Linked DNA regions of Homo sapiens: all the other regions are linked to region 1. Evidence: promoter capture Hi-C in human tissues and cell types (Jung and others, 2019). All regions are on one chromosome and are shown on one strand. Each heading gives the region's core, a stretch centred on a gene start or on the middle of the fragment in contact. The rest is flanking DNA. Distances are from core to core; before and after follow the strand shown. Region 1 holds the start of APCDD1L (APC down-regulated 1 like). Region 2 has its middle 27 kb from the start of MIR298. Region 3 has its middle 7.5 kb from the start of ANKRD60.

Region 1 (3,808 bases), core at 753-3,252:
TACTCAACCTAACTAGTGCCTGGCCCATGCCACAGTCTCAATAATTATCAGCAAATCCTCTCATTTATAAATAAGCCAGTACAACTATTAATACACAAGCATCATACTTTGTGGAAAAGTTCGTATCTCTAACAGCAGTACAATAAGTTCTGAAAATACTGAATTATGACCCTATGTAGGACATCAATGTAACACCCATTCTCCCCACAAAATGCCACTAATGCGTGAACCCCCATCAGCCGCCTGGGACTTTGAAATACCCACATCCGGAAAGCCCAGAGACTGAAGTCTCAAATGATTATGGCCAGAATAGCATGTAGTTTTAACTTTTTTTTTTTTTTTTTTGAGATGGAGTTTCACTCTTGTCACACAGGCTGGAGTGCAATGGCATGATCTCAGCTCACTGCAACCTCCGCCTCCCAGGTTCAAGTGATTCTCCTGCCTCAGCCTCTGGAGTAGCTAGGATTACTGACGCCCGCCACCACGCCCAGCTAATTTTTGTATTTTTAGTAGAGCCGGGGTTTCACCATGTTGGCCAGGCTGCTCTTAAACTCCTGACCTCAGGTGACCCACCCGTCTGGCTCTCCCAAAGAGCTGGGATTACAGGTGTGTGCCACGGCACCCGGCCTTAGCATGTAGTTTTTAAACTACCCATAATTGTAAATTTTGTACATTGAAAGACCCATAATTGCCACAAATAATCACAATTATGCAAGTATAAATAATCACCCTGCACAACTCTCCTCTTGCCCACAAAGTTATCCCTTTCATGAGAATTTAATATGTGACAATGGCCATTGTCTGCCAGGGAAAGCTCATACCGATTTCAGTTTCAGCAAGGCCACCTCGAGTCTCATAGAAACCAGAAAAAAAAAATGTCATTTTCAGGAAGCAAATTGATCGTTTTCCTCACATTTCCATTTGCGTTAAGATCATGGTGTGGCCTTGCTCTGGACTTTTTCCTATTCCCTGTTGCCTCTGGAGAGGAGGAAAGCTAAGGATGGCTGGTGGGCCCACATCGGGGGTCCCTGGGTGGATTGAAGGGCTCTTGTGGCTCCTGGAAGCCTCGCCCAAGTTTCTGGTAAGAAATCAAAAGGTGAGGTGGTGTCCCCTGTTCCCCTGTGGGATGATCAGCCCACAAAAGTGGGACAAATGAGTCTATAAAATGCTTCAGAGGGGCAGGTGGACTGCTCACTCGTGAGTCCCGGGAAACAGGCCTGGCCCAGTTCTCCAAACCTTTCCCCAGGGAGACCGCATCTCTGTCTTCTCTCTTCTTCTCTCTTCTCTCTTGTTCTCTCTTCTCTCTCTTCTCTCTTCTCTCTCCCCCTCCCTCCTCCTTCCTGGTTCTCTTTTTTCTGTTGATTTCACTCCCTCCTTTCTTTTCCCTTTCTCTTTCCTCCCCTTTCTCTCTCTTTCTCTGCCTGTTTCCCCTTTCCTCACTTTCATTTCTCTTTCTGTCTCTTTCTTTCTCTCCCTCTCTCAGGTCTCTCTTCTCTGTCTCTCTTCATCCTCAGTTTTCCCCTCTCTCCCCTCTTACTTTCTTTCCCTTTTTCCTTTTTCTTTCCATCTTCTTCCTCTCCCTCTCTGGGTTCGTGGCAACACAAGGAAACCCGCACATCCCCAGCCCGCAGCCTCGCCCCCTCGGTCCCACTGCAGTTACCCGGTGATCCATGCAGGTGGGAACAATCCAGTTAACTTTTCCCATCCGAGTGATTCTCTTTCTCTTCTTCATTCATAAATGCCATAACTCTCCCGGTCCTCCTTTCCAAGGCTCGTGCACTTGATTTCAAGGCTTGCCTGCCACCCAGGGTGCCACCAGAGTCCCAGTGCCTGGGTTGGGGGCTGGAGCGCACCCTTTGGGATCCCCCAGCCTGTCCTCCGCCTCACGGCTGCCTCGCTTCTGAGCTGCCACCCTCAGCTGACTCACTCAGATGAGATTTGGGAGGGAGGGGGGCAGGAGGAGGAGTTGCGAGAAGGAGGAAAACCCGCCTGGTCGGGTCCACACTTTGCCTAGATGCGTTTGGGTGTGGTGGGGAGCGGGTGACGGCCTCATTTACAGACAGAGGCCGGGGCTGGCTTCTAGGCGACCGGGTTGGCCACTTTCACTGCGCTTCTGGGTTTGCTGGGATCCAAGTTGACGCGACTTTTCCAGGAGTAGCTGGAAGACCTGAATAGAAACTTCAGGGGTCCCAGGACTGGCGGGGCTTAGAGGAACTCCCCGCCCCGCTTGCCCTTCCAGGGAACGGCCTGGCTAGGGGTGCGCTTTGACGCAAGGAGCGCATCGCTCTGCCTTGGCCGGGACCAGAGCTTGGGGGAGGCCTCCTTGCCCACTGCGAAGACTTTGGGGAAGGCGACGGCCAGGGGACGGACATCTGGGGGAGGGCTGGGGGTCTGAATGGCAGGAGCTGCACCAGGGGGCTGTGCGCGCTGCGCGGGTGTGCGCGCCTCGCCGGGGGCTGTCTCCACCTCTTCTGGCAAGTTGGACCTATGAGTGCGCAGCTCCGCTTACAACTATCAACAGCCGGGAAGGCTGAGCGCGTGTGAGCGCCGAGGGGGGCGCAGGACCCTCGCAACTTCTTCGCAGGACTCCAGCCTGGCCGCCGGCGCCCGCAGCCGTCCGAGAGCCCTGCGCCCGCGCCTCCCCTTGCGCACCGTGGCAGCGCCCGGCGGGCGGTCCTGCCAGCCCCGACGGGATGCCCGCAGCCATGCTCCCCTACGCTTGCGTCCTGGTGCTTTTGGGAGGTAGGTGCCACCCTCCCCCACCCGGCAAACTGGCTGAGCTCGGAAGGGAGGGAGCTCGCCGTCTAATGTCCCCTAAGGGCCCTTGGGGACTACGGCCCTGGGTCGGCCCACGCGGCTGCTATGCTGCGCCCTGCGCGCCTTTCTCCAGTCTCACCTGGCCGGCACCTGCGCGCCTCCAGGAGCTTCCTGGGGCCTGCGGGAGGGAGTCGCGTCACCTCGCAATATGAGAGCCGCTGCACTCTCTGCGCCAGTCGGGGCCTGGCCTGTAGGTACCCAGAGCTGCCCTTTGTGCCGGGCCCAGTGGGACCGGGGCCTCCAAGAAGATGCAGGAGGATCCCAGGCCCACTGAGACCCCCATGGTGCGGGACAAGCCCGGCTATTCAGACCAAGGTTACTGGGGTTGTTTTTGCCCACGGAATCCTGACCTGTGCGGGGTCGGGGCTTCTTCCTGCAGCAGGACTCGGGGAGAAGCTAGGGAGCGCGCAGTGACCCCAGGCTCGAGTTGTGCCCAGCAGGCCTGACAAAGGGGACCAAGGGGCTTCAGGAACCCCTGGTAGAGTAGTCAATGCCTTCTCCAGGACTAAGGGGTTCCCTGGTGGCTCTTCGTGGGGGTGGGGAGTAGGGTAGACAAAACTGTACAAAGGCCAGCTGACTGGAGTGTGCCATCACAGGGGCCCAGTCACCACTGACAAAAATGACAGTAACCACAGTTGAAGTGTGCCCAGCTGGGGGCTCATCCCCAAGCACCCTCACATTATGAATGGCTGAGAATTCTGGCCCTGGAGTTAGACCACCTGGCTGGGAAGCCCAGATCAACATCATATCAACCCGTCTGGCTTTGGGTAAGCATGGCCATCGGCTCTCTCAGCCTTGACTTTCTTTCCTGTCAAATGGGCTCACAAAATCCCCTCCTCCGTCTGGGATGATTGTGAAGATTACGAGAGCACGTGCAGGAGGATCACTCCACTTGCTGCCTGGCACTGAGCTCATGTTCAGGGAATGGCAGCCGAGAACCCCGGGGTGAAGAGGGGCTGCGCGGTCCCACAGAGCACGCTCTGCTCCATGT
Region 2 (3,808 bases), core at 781-3,280, 330 kb before region 1:
AGACTAGCTGATGATGCAGCAAAGAATTTCAGGGGAGGAGAGGCCATTCCAGAAAAGATGAACAGCACCATGGGAAAGCAACTAAGAGAGAGGCAAAAGTGGGGGTTGGAGGGGAAAGAGGGAATCTCGGAAGGTAAATTTGGCTTTAGTGGAAGCTCTGCTTAAAATTTCTGCAATTCATAGTGGGAATTCCAGCCACCCTGGGGGCTTCTGGGCATCATTGTTTAAGGGGAATGGTATATTTCACCTTCTAGAACAACCTCAATTACCCAGGGCAAATTTTCCTAATGAAATCTAATTAAGACAGCGACATAAGCCAGGACACTCAGAAACCAGCTCTCACATGGGGTTGAGGGGAGAAGAAACGTGGTCTTCTGCTGGCTGCCGGTCTTTGGCCTGTGCCCCTTGGACCCCTCAAGTTTGAGAGTGGGGACCTTGAAGACCAACCTTGCTGTGAACCAAAACCCAAAGCTTTAGCCTTGGAGCTAGACAGCTAGATTTCTAGGTGTTAAATCTTTCTCTTTGAGTGTAGCAATTGAAGTACTTGTATGAAAACTCCACACCTATGAAATTGGAATTTTTGGACCAGGTCTGTACGAAACTCTCAGGGGGACAGTGATGTTAATGGTGTCGAATCTGTGAGCCTCATTGGTAGCCCTCCAATGCCATATTTGGCTTTTAAAAATGCCCTTCCTAATGTTGAGCTGAAGTCTGTCCCTTGATGCACCTGGTTCTAACCCCCTTAGCCACCAGATACTTGAAGCTGCCCTCAACCTTTCTCTCTTCAAGACTCTCTTTATTCCTTCAAACGACTTTCTTTATAACCGCCAAATTTCCTGGCTTTGTGACCCCCTTCCCCATTTCTAAATCTTCTTTTCTGCTCCTTCCCAGGGGTTCTCTTATCTACCCACATCTTCCTTTTTTTCTGTGATCCCTCAAATTCTTCTTTTCCTTTTGTCTTCCTTAAATCTCTCCCCACTTTACTGTCACCACTTACCCTCTGTCCCTGCTGCCTGGGTTTATGTTGGCCTTTCTCATAGCCATGTGCCCTGCTAATTTGTAACATACTTACCCTAAAATAAACACAAAAAATAAACACACAGGCTATGCCCAGTGGGAGCTGGGAAGGCAGCCTCCCCATTTCTACCCGGGAATAGTTGCAGGCAGAGTCCTGCCTCTGCTGGCTGAGCACTGTCAACAGGTAATGGTGGCCCCGCATTGCAGGCTCTTGGCCTTGGGAGAACTAAGTCACTAGGCTGTTTATTCTGGCTTCTCTGCCCTGTGAATTAATGGCCACTAGTGCTTGGACCAGCATAGCTATTGGAGGCGTTTGAAAAAACTCATGAGATTTTTAAACAAGGGAAAGAAAACAAATACCAGTAAAAAATTTATGCCCCCCACCCCCCACATATGGCCTTTTGATATGTAAGAAAGAAATTATAAAACAAAAATGGGTGCTACATCACTTAATTTGACAGAACCAGATTTTTTTGTTTTTGAAATGCTTGCTTTGTTTATCCCATGCATGTATGATGGAGGCAAAACTGGTTTTGGGGGATGCGGTGCGCAAACAAGTCTTAGCTGTGACAAGGTCCTGCAGTGCATAAACAGACAGTGGGGTCTAGCTGTATGTCCATGGTATTAAAATGTCATGGGGAGGGGCAAGTAAGAAGCATATGTCTGAAGAAGCGAAGAGGGGAGTGATCATGAAAAAAACAAAGGTTGAGAAAACTGGTTTATCTCAAATAGCTGTAGCTTCTATACCATTTTTTTCAGGTCTAGCTTAACCAAAACACTTAAAACTGTTACCAAAAAACTTTCAACAGCACTTGTGGTCACTCAACCAATGTTCCCATCAGTCTGCCGTCCCCCACAGTGGTTAGCCTCTCCAAGCTGCAGTACTAGGTCAGTACTTGCAACCTTGCTGCCTGCTCCTGCTCTGAAAAGCTTGTTCTTAGACACCAAGGTCAGGGACAGAAGGTGGGGAACACACACACACACGTAAAACACACACTAAATACGACTCTCAGGATGGCTAAGTGTTTCCAGTTTAGGGAAAGGACACAGTGGAATTCTGCATTCTCTAAACTGCCTTTTGAGACCATTTTGCAACCAACTGTAAAGCAGATTTGACAAAATTTACATGAAGCCAACACAAAACAGATTTCTTCCTAGCTGGTGCTTTTTTTGTTTTTCGGGGTTTTTTGTTGTTGTTGTTGTTTTGTTTTGTTTTTTTTTTGAGATGGAGTCTCACACTGTAGGCCGGGCTGGAGTGCAATGGCGCGATACCTAGCTGGTGCTTTTTATTTGAGCAACTTTCGATGTTTTTTGGGAGTTCCATTAGGGTTAAATCACTAGTGTAGAGTCAAATTGGACAACCCCAGGCTTCTTAAGCTAATCAATCTAGACATTTGGAGCTGAAAGGGATAAATAGGATCATCTCATTCAGCGATCTCATTTTAGAAGAAACTGAGGCAGAGGGGTGTTGGGTCTGACCTAAGGCCACTTGACCATGGCTAGAAGCAACCTGGGCTGCTAGCCCTGGGCCTTTCGTCTTAGATCCCACTGCTCCAGTTTGGGACATCAAGTTATAGGAAATAGAGTCATTAGTGTCAAAACCCCACAACAGAACAAGAAATTCCATCTCTCATTCTTGAACATGGGGATTAAAGATGTCATTTGAGCATCTCATCCCTCTGCTGGGTGATTTTTTAGAGAAGAGCAGCAGTTGAGCCAGCACATGACATCACTGGCCTGGAAGCTTAATTTTATTTTAGTGATTTGGTTTTTGTGATAGGTCACCTTCCAGGTAAGCAGTTAGGAGACATGCTTTACTCACACCATGGTTTCTGCTCAGTTTCCTCTCAAAAGCTTCCCTCTTCTTGAAGAGCAGTATAATAATAACTGATAATTGAGGTAAATCCATGTAGATTATTAAAAAACCAAAAAACCTCATTCTTACCAACACTGAAGTTTCAGCTTTCTTCCTCCTTAACCTTCCACACAGCTGCAGAAAATGAAGGCTGAAGAGTTAAAGGCTGTAAGCAACTCCAGGGTGAGAAAGGCTTGCAGTGCATTAAAGAAACATCTCAAAACAATCCCAAACTGTAACATTTCTAATTCTTGAATTCTGATGAACATAAAAGAGTTTTGTTTGCAAAACTTTAAACCTACATCAGGTTGACCCCACACAATATTGGAACATTGCAACATAAATTCCCAGCTCAGATAAGTTCAGTTACAAGAGCACCTTTGGGTCGCCCTCCCCTCCCCCACAAAAGCAAATTTCCATTAAGCAAATGATTAATGTACTAAAGGAAACAACTTCAATATTGGGGGCATATCATCATGTTTAGCTAGCTTTATTCTCCTGCTCCTCCTCCTCCCTCACCCTCCATTTGAAATATTAAAAGTGGCTGGTAATTCACCTATGTGGTTCACCATAAGATCTGCTTTTTCTTGGGAGCCTATCCTCACCCCGCAGACCTCACCTATGTAAAAGGGGCAAGTGGGCCTATTCAGATGCTAACCCCAGTTGAGCAGGGTGGGGCAAAGGGCCAGCTGGGAGACTAGTGAGTTGGGAATGCTTGGGGAAGTTGCTAAAAATGGCTCTGGAAAAGGAAGGAGCTGAGTACCAGTCTCTCAGGCAGAGAGAAGGTTTGCGAAGTCTATATAGCAAAATCCTGTCTTCTCAGGGAGGGCCATAGGTGCTTTCCTCGGGGGTTGGTATAGCTCTCAGTTGCTTCATATGGTCTGCACTGGCTTTTCCACCCTTGAATCAGGGTGTAAAGAGGGAAGCTGGGGGAGG
Region 3 (3,808 bases), core at 379-2,878, 280 kb after region 1:
GGGGAGACATTCATTTTCAGATGAAGACAGGGCTTGAGTCACTTTCGAATTAGAGTGTTCTGCTGTTCTAGAAGGCAATTTATTTGAACCAAATAAAAGATGAATCACCCACTCTTCAGTGTTTTCCTATTAATCGGAGCAGTTTTTACCAGAGCTTTCCTGAACATTCTGAGTGTGGTCCTCTCCGTAGGGTACAGCATGCTTAATGCCCTTTAGCTACTGTGGGAGACAGGAAGGGGTCTAACCCAGATGAGATGATTATGAAACAAAAAGGTTCCCCAAGGTGGCTCCTATCTGCACATCATTTTGTGCCTGAAGGAGTTATTTAATTCTGTCTTGAGCTGGCAAAAGGAATGTTCCAGGCTTTAGTGATGATGAAAGGGTGGAAGCATCAGTTTAAATAACTCCCCTTCCTAAGGTATATAATGTGCCTTTCACGGTGTGGAGGGAATTTGTTTGTGGCAGTTGTTGTTTGGGTTTTAGTTTTTACCTTGTTTTCATTTCGGTGTCTTTAGTTTTCATTTTTCTCATCCACAACTAGAAATCTCTCAAATAATTGTCTTCCCTGAATAAATTCATCAGGCTTTTGCAGCTATTCAGGATATGATTTGGCTGATGCCAGGGGCAAACCGAAAGCCTTTCTCTTTGCTGTGGTCTTTAATCATTCTGCTTAATTTGAGAGATTGAGGTTTCAGTCATTTTACCATGTTCCCAGCATCCTGTTCTGAGTCGAGAAAAACAGGCCCACGTTTTCCATGAAAGCAGTGCGACCTCTAGCGGCGGCGCACGGGAAGTAGGCGCGCTCGGTGCCCGGCGGGGCTTCCCCGGGTGGTTGCGCGGCCCCAGTGCCCGACCACGTTATCTAGCCCCCTACGCGCCCTATCTCCCATCTCCCGGCTTATTGAAGCCACAGCGACTGATATGAATTCTGTGCTCCGGTGCCCATGATATTGGTATCATGTTTTTGAAAACGGTGCTTTTTGATATGAAAGTATTCACCAGCACTCCGGGCTTCTGGTTCTAACTTCCTCCCCATCTCTTTTTCATTTCCTTTCGTTGCCTGGGTGAAAGCAATGTCATTTATTTTCATGCCCTTCTCCCCATCCCCATTTAGAAAGTAGTGAAAGCTTTGGTAGTGGGTTTTCGCAGCCAGCCGTCTCCTGCATGCTTTTGTCTTTCGGAGTAAGGAGCACGCGCTCCCAGTTCTCTCCAAGCGGACCTCGCTGCAGTGAAACCACCTCGTGCTGCCAAGAGCCGCGAGCAGGAGCATCCGGTTCGGTTTGCAGTCGGAGAAACGCCGGGGCGGTCGTGCAATCTCAGAGTGTTCGCTTGATCTGTTGACCTTTGTGAACTTCAACATTCTGGCTATTTTTATGTTATCTGATTTTTAAAGTTTTATGTGCTTTTCAACTGATAACCTAAAATTGAAATATTAAATCTGTATTCATAAATTTCTCAGCCTCTATTTTACAGAGTTTATTTCCTTTTTGTTTGATTTGTATGTGTGTGAGATGAAGAATTAAAATTTTGTTCACATTTTTTTTGCATGGTCATTTTGCTCAGCTTTCTGCTGTTGGCATTTTACTGAAGACCGAAATCTTGCTGGGTCTTTTGCTGTTCATTTCCCAGCCTGGCTATTTTTATCTGTAAGATGAAATAACAGTAAAAAGAAATCAATAATTTTGTTTTTTTGCCCAAAAATAATGTTTTTTTTGTTGTTGTTTTTGTTGTTGTTGTTTTCCTTTTAATTTCAGACAGCTGATACTGATTCTGGAACTCTATAGTCCCAATGATGTTTATGATTACCTAATGCACATTGCCTTAAAGTTGTGTGCAGATCAAGTTTCTGAAGTTCGGTGGATCTCCTTCAAACTAGTAAGGAATCAGGGCATTTGCTCTGTGATTTTTACAAATAGGAATGTTGATGTATCTTCCATTTTAACTCTTTTAATTTTTCTGGGCTTACTTTGTCAGCTAACCTATGAAACTAGCTTTTAAAATTTGAAATTAGGAACTATATTATAGTTTTATCAATTTGTAGGATAGCTTTTTTTGTTATATGTTTCAGTGACGGCAATTGTGGAGTAATCCTTTTATATATGAAACTCTTTAAGCCATAGGTTAGTGTTTTTAAAATACAGGTTGATTTACAGCTTGGTTTTGTAGAAAAATATTTAGTGAGCAAAGACTCTGCTGTAGAAAAGCTGATCCTATTTTTTTATGTGGGCTTTACACCAGCTGAATACTGATGAAAAAAAATCACATTTGACAATATTGATTTTAAGATACTCTGATGGTATTAAAATTTTATAAAAATGACATGTTCTGAAAGGTAATGATTTAGTTATTAAGCAAGGGGACATGCTCTAAAATTTGGAACCTTAAGATTAAGAATGTATTTTTCTAATGTCAGTCTCCTTTGAAGTTTCATTTTTATGAAGGGTTTTATGTGTGTGTGTGTATTGCCTATATTTAAACATCTTTTTTCTCTGTGTTCTAATGATGACCGTGACAAAAATTACTTTCTCCTGCGCCTATAAATTCATTTTAAAGGTGGAAGGATGCATAAAAATGTCTAGTTTCCGTGTAGAGTAGTATTCGTAATTCAAATAGATGGCAGCATTTTAAATGTGCTCTTTTGATGTTTTTCACAGGTCGTGGCAATTCTGCAGAAGTTCTATTCCAACAGTGAAAGTGCATTGGGGTTAAATTTCATCAATGAGCTCATCATAAGGTTCCGGCACTGTTCTAAGTGGGTTGGAAGGCAAGCTTTCGCTTTCATTTGTCAGGTTAGCAAGACCCCGGGAGGGATCTACCCTGGGTAACATCTGCCACGTGATGAAATCAAGTTCACCAGACAGAGAATCTCAGCCTGGAGCACTAGCCAGGAACTGAGGAATTAGTTCACCTAGCCCTGTTATCTCACAGGACATTGGGACCAACCCAGTGTGGTGAAGGGACTTGCCCAGGGTTACCCCACTGGCATACTCATTTGCCACATAGCTATTGATTGAGTACCTACGATGGTCCAGACAGATTCTAGATGCTAAAGACAAAGTGAACAAGCCTCTGCTCTCCCACATTTCCATCCAGTAAGATAAGGGCCAGGCCCACAGTCCACTCCTTTCCTATACAGGTCTGTGTCCACCACTACACCTCACCTTAGCCAGTGGCTTTGGAAGGAAGGCAGGATGAAGAATTGGGCAGTGGGTTAGGGCAGAGACTTTAACCTCTTTAGAGTAAATGTGTAGAGTTCGTATCATCCTGTCCAGCTCCTCAGATCGCCCTCTCTACTCAGCCTCTTGGAAATGAGGGTGTGATTTATGTTTGCCTAGGAGCAATGGCAGTGATAATGGCTGCCATTTCTTGAATACCTCTTGTGTGCCAGGTATCACATCACACATTTAATTCTCTAATAAAAAGTAATGTGTCATGGCGGGCACCTTTAATCCCAGCTACTTGGGAGGCTGAGGCAGGAGAATCGCTTGAACTCGGGAGGCGGAGGTTGCAGTGAGCTGAGATTGCATCACTGCACTTCAGCCTGGGCAACAGAGTGAGACTCCATCTCAGGGAAGAAAAAAAAAAACCAAGAGGTAATGTGTATTGAGCATGGCATACCCATTTACCTTTAGACCAGCTCTTTTAGGTGAAACATTTGAAGCCCAGAGAGGTTAGGTCACTTGTTCAAGATCACACAGGAAGTGTAAGCCGATGATTTTTTTTTTTCTGCTAAAGTATTGTTTTAAACATTTTAACTTTCATTACACACGTTTTCAAGCATATACAAAGGTAGAGGGATTGCTGTAAT

The links. The method cuts DNA at HindIII sites, captures the fragments that hold promoters and counts their contacts. A contact is called where the count stands out against the background at its distance.
Region 2: a fragment that was not itself captured here is called in contact with the fragment with the promoter of APCDD1L in region 1 in 3 of the 25 tissues and cell types used here (IMR-90 fibroblasts, mesenchymal stem cells and mesendoderm cells).
Region 3: a fragment that was not itself captured here is called in contact with the fragment with the promoter of APCDD1L in region 1 in 2 of the 25 tissues and cell types used here (H1 embryonic stem cells and thymus).

The regions. Positions count from the first base shown.
Region 1 is chr20:58,513,593-58,517,400 of GRCh38, reverse strand. It overlaps APCDD1L (APC down-regulated 1 like), which reads left to right and starts at 2,002. Exons shown (of 4, transcript NM_153360.3): 1 at 2,002-2,742. The coding sequence starts at 2,694. It overlaps APCDD1L-DT (APCDD1L divergent transcript), which reads right to left and starts at 2,022. Exons shown (of 7, transcript NR_034147.1): 1 at 1,661-2,022. RefSeq lists an enhancer at 2,401-3,399. The HindIII fragment of the contact is 21,415 bases long and covers 1-3,808 here.
Region 2 is chr20:58,843,229-58,847,036 of GRCh38, reverse strand. It overlaps GNAS-AS1 and a transcript of GNAS not described here. Among named protein-coding and RNA genes, the nearest start is that of MIR298, 27 kb to the right of the region's middle. The HindIII fragment of the contact is 4,082 bases long and covers 1-3,808 here.
Region 3 is chr20:58,234,221-58,238,028 of GRCh38, reverse strand. It overlaps the pseudogene PPP4R1L. Among named protein-coding and RNA genes, the nearest start is that of ANKRD60, 7.5 kb to the right of the region's middle. RefSeq lists a silencer at 855-904. The HindIII fragment of the contact is 3,619 bases long and covers 1-3,437 here.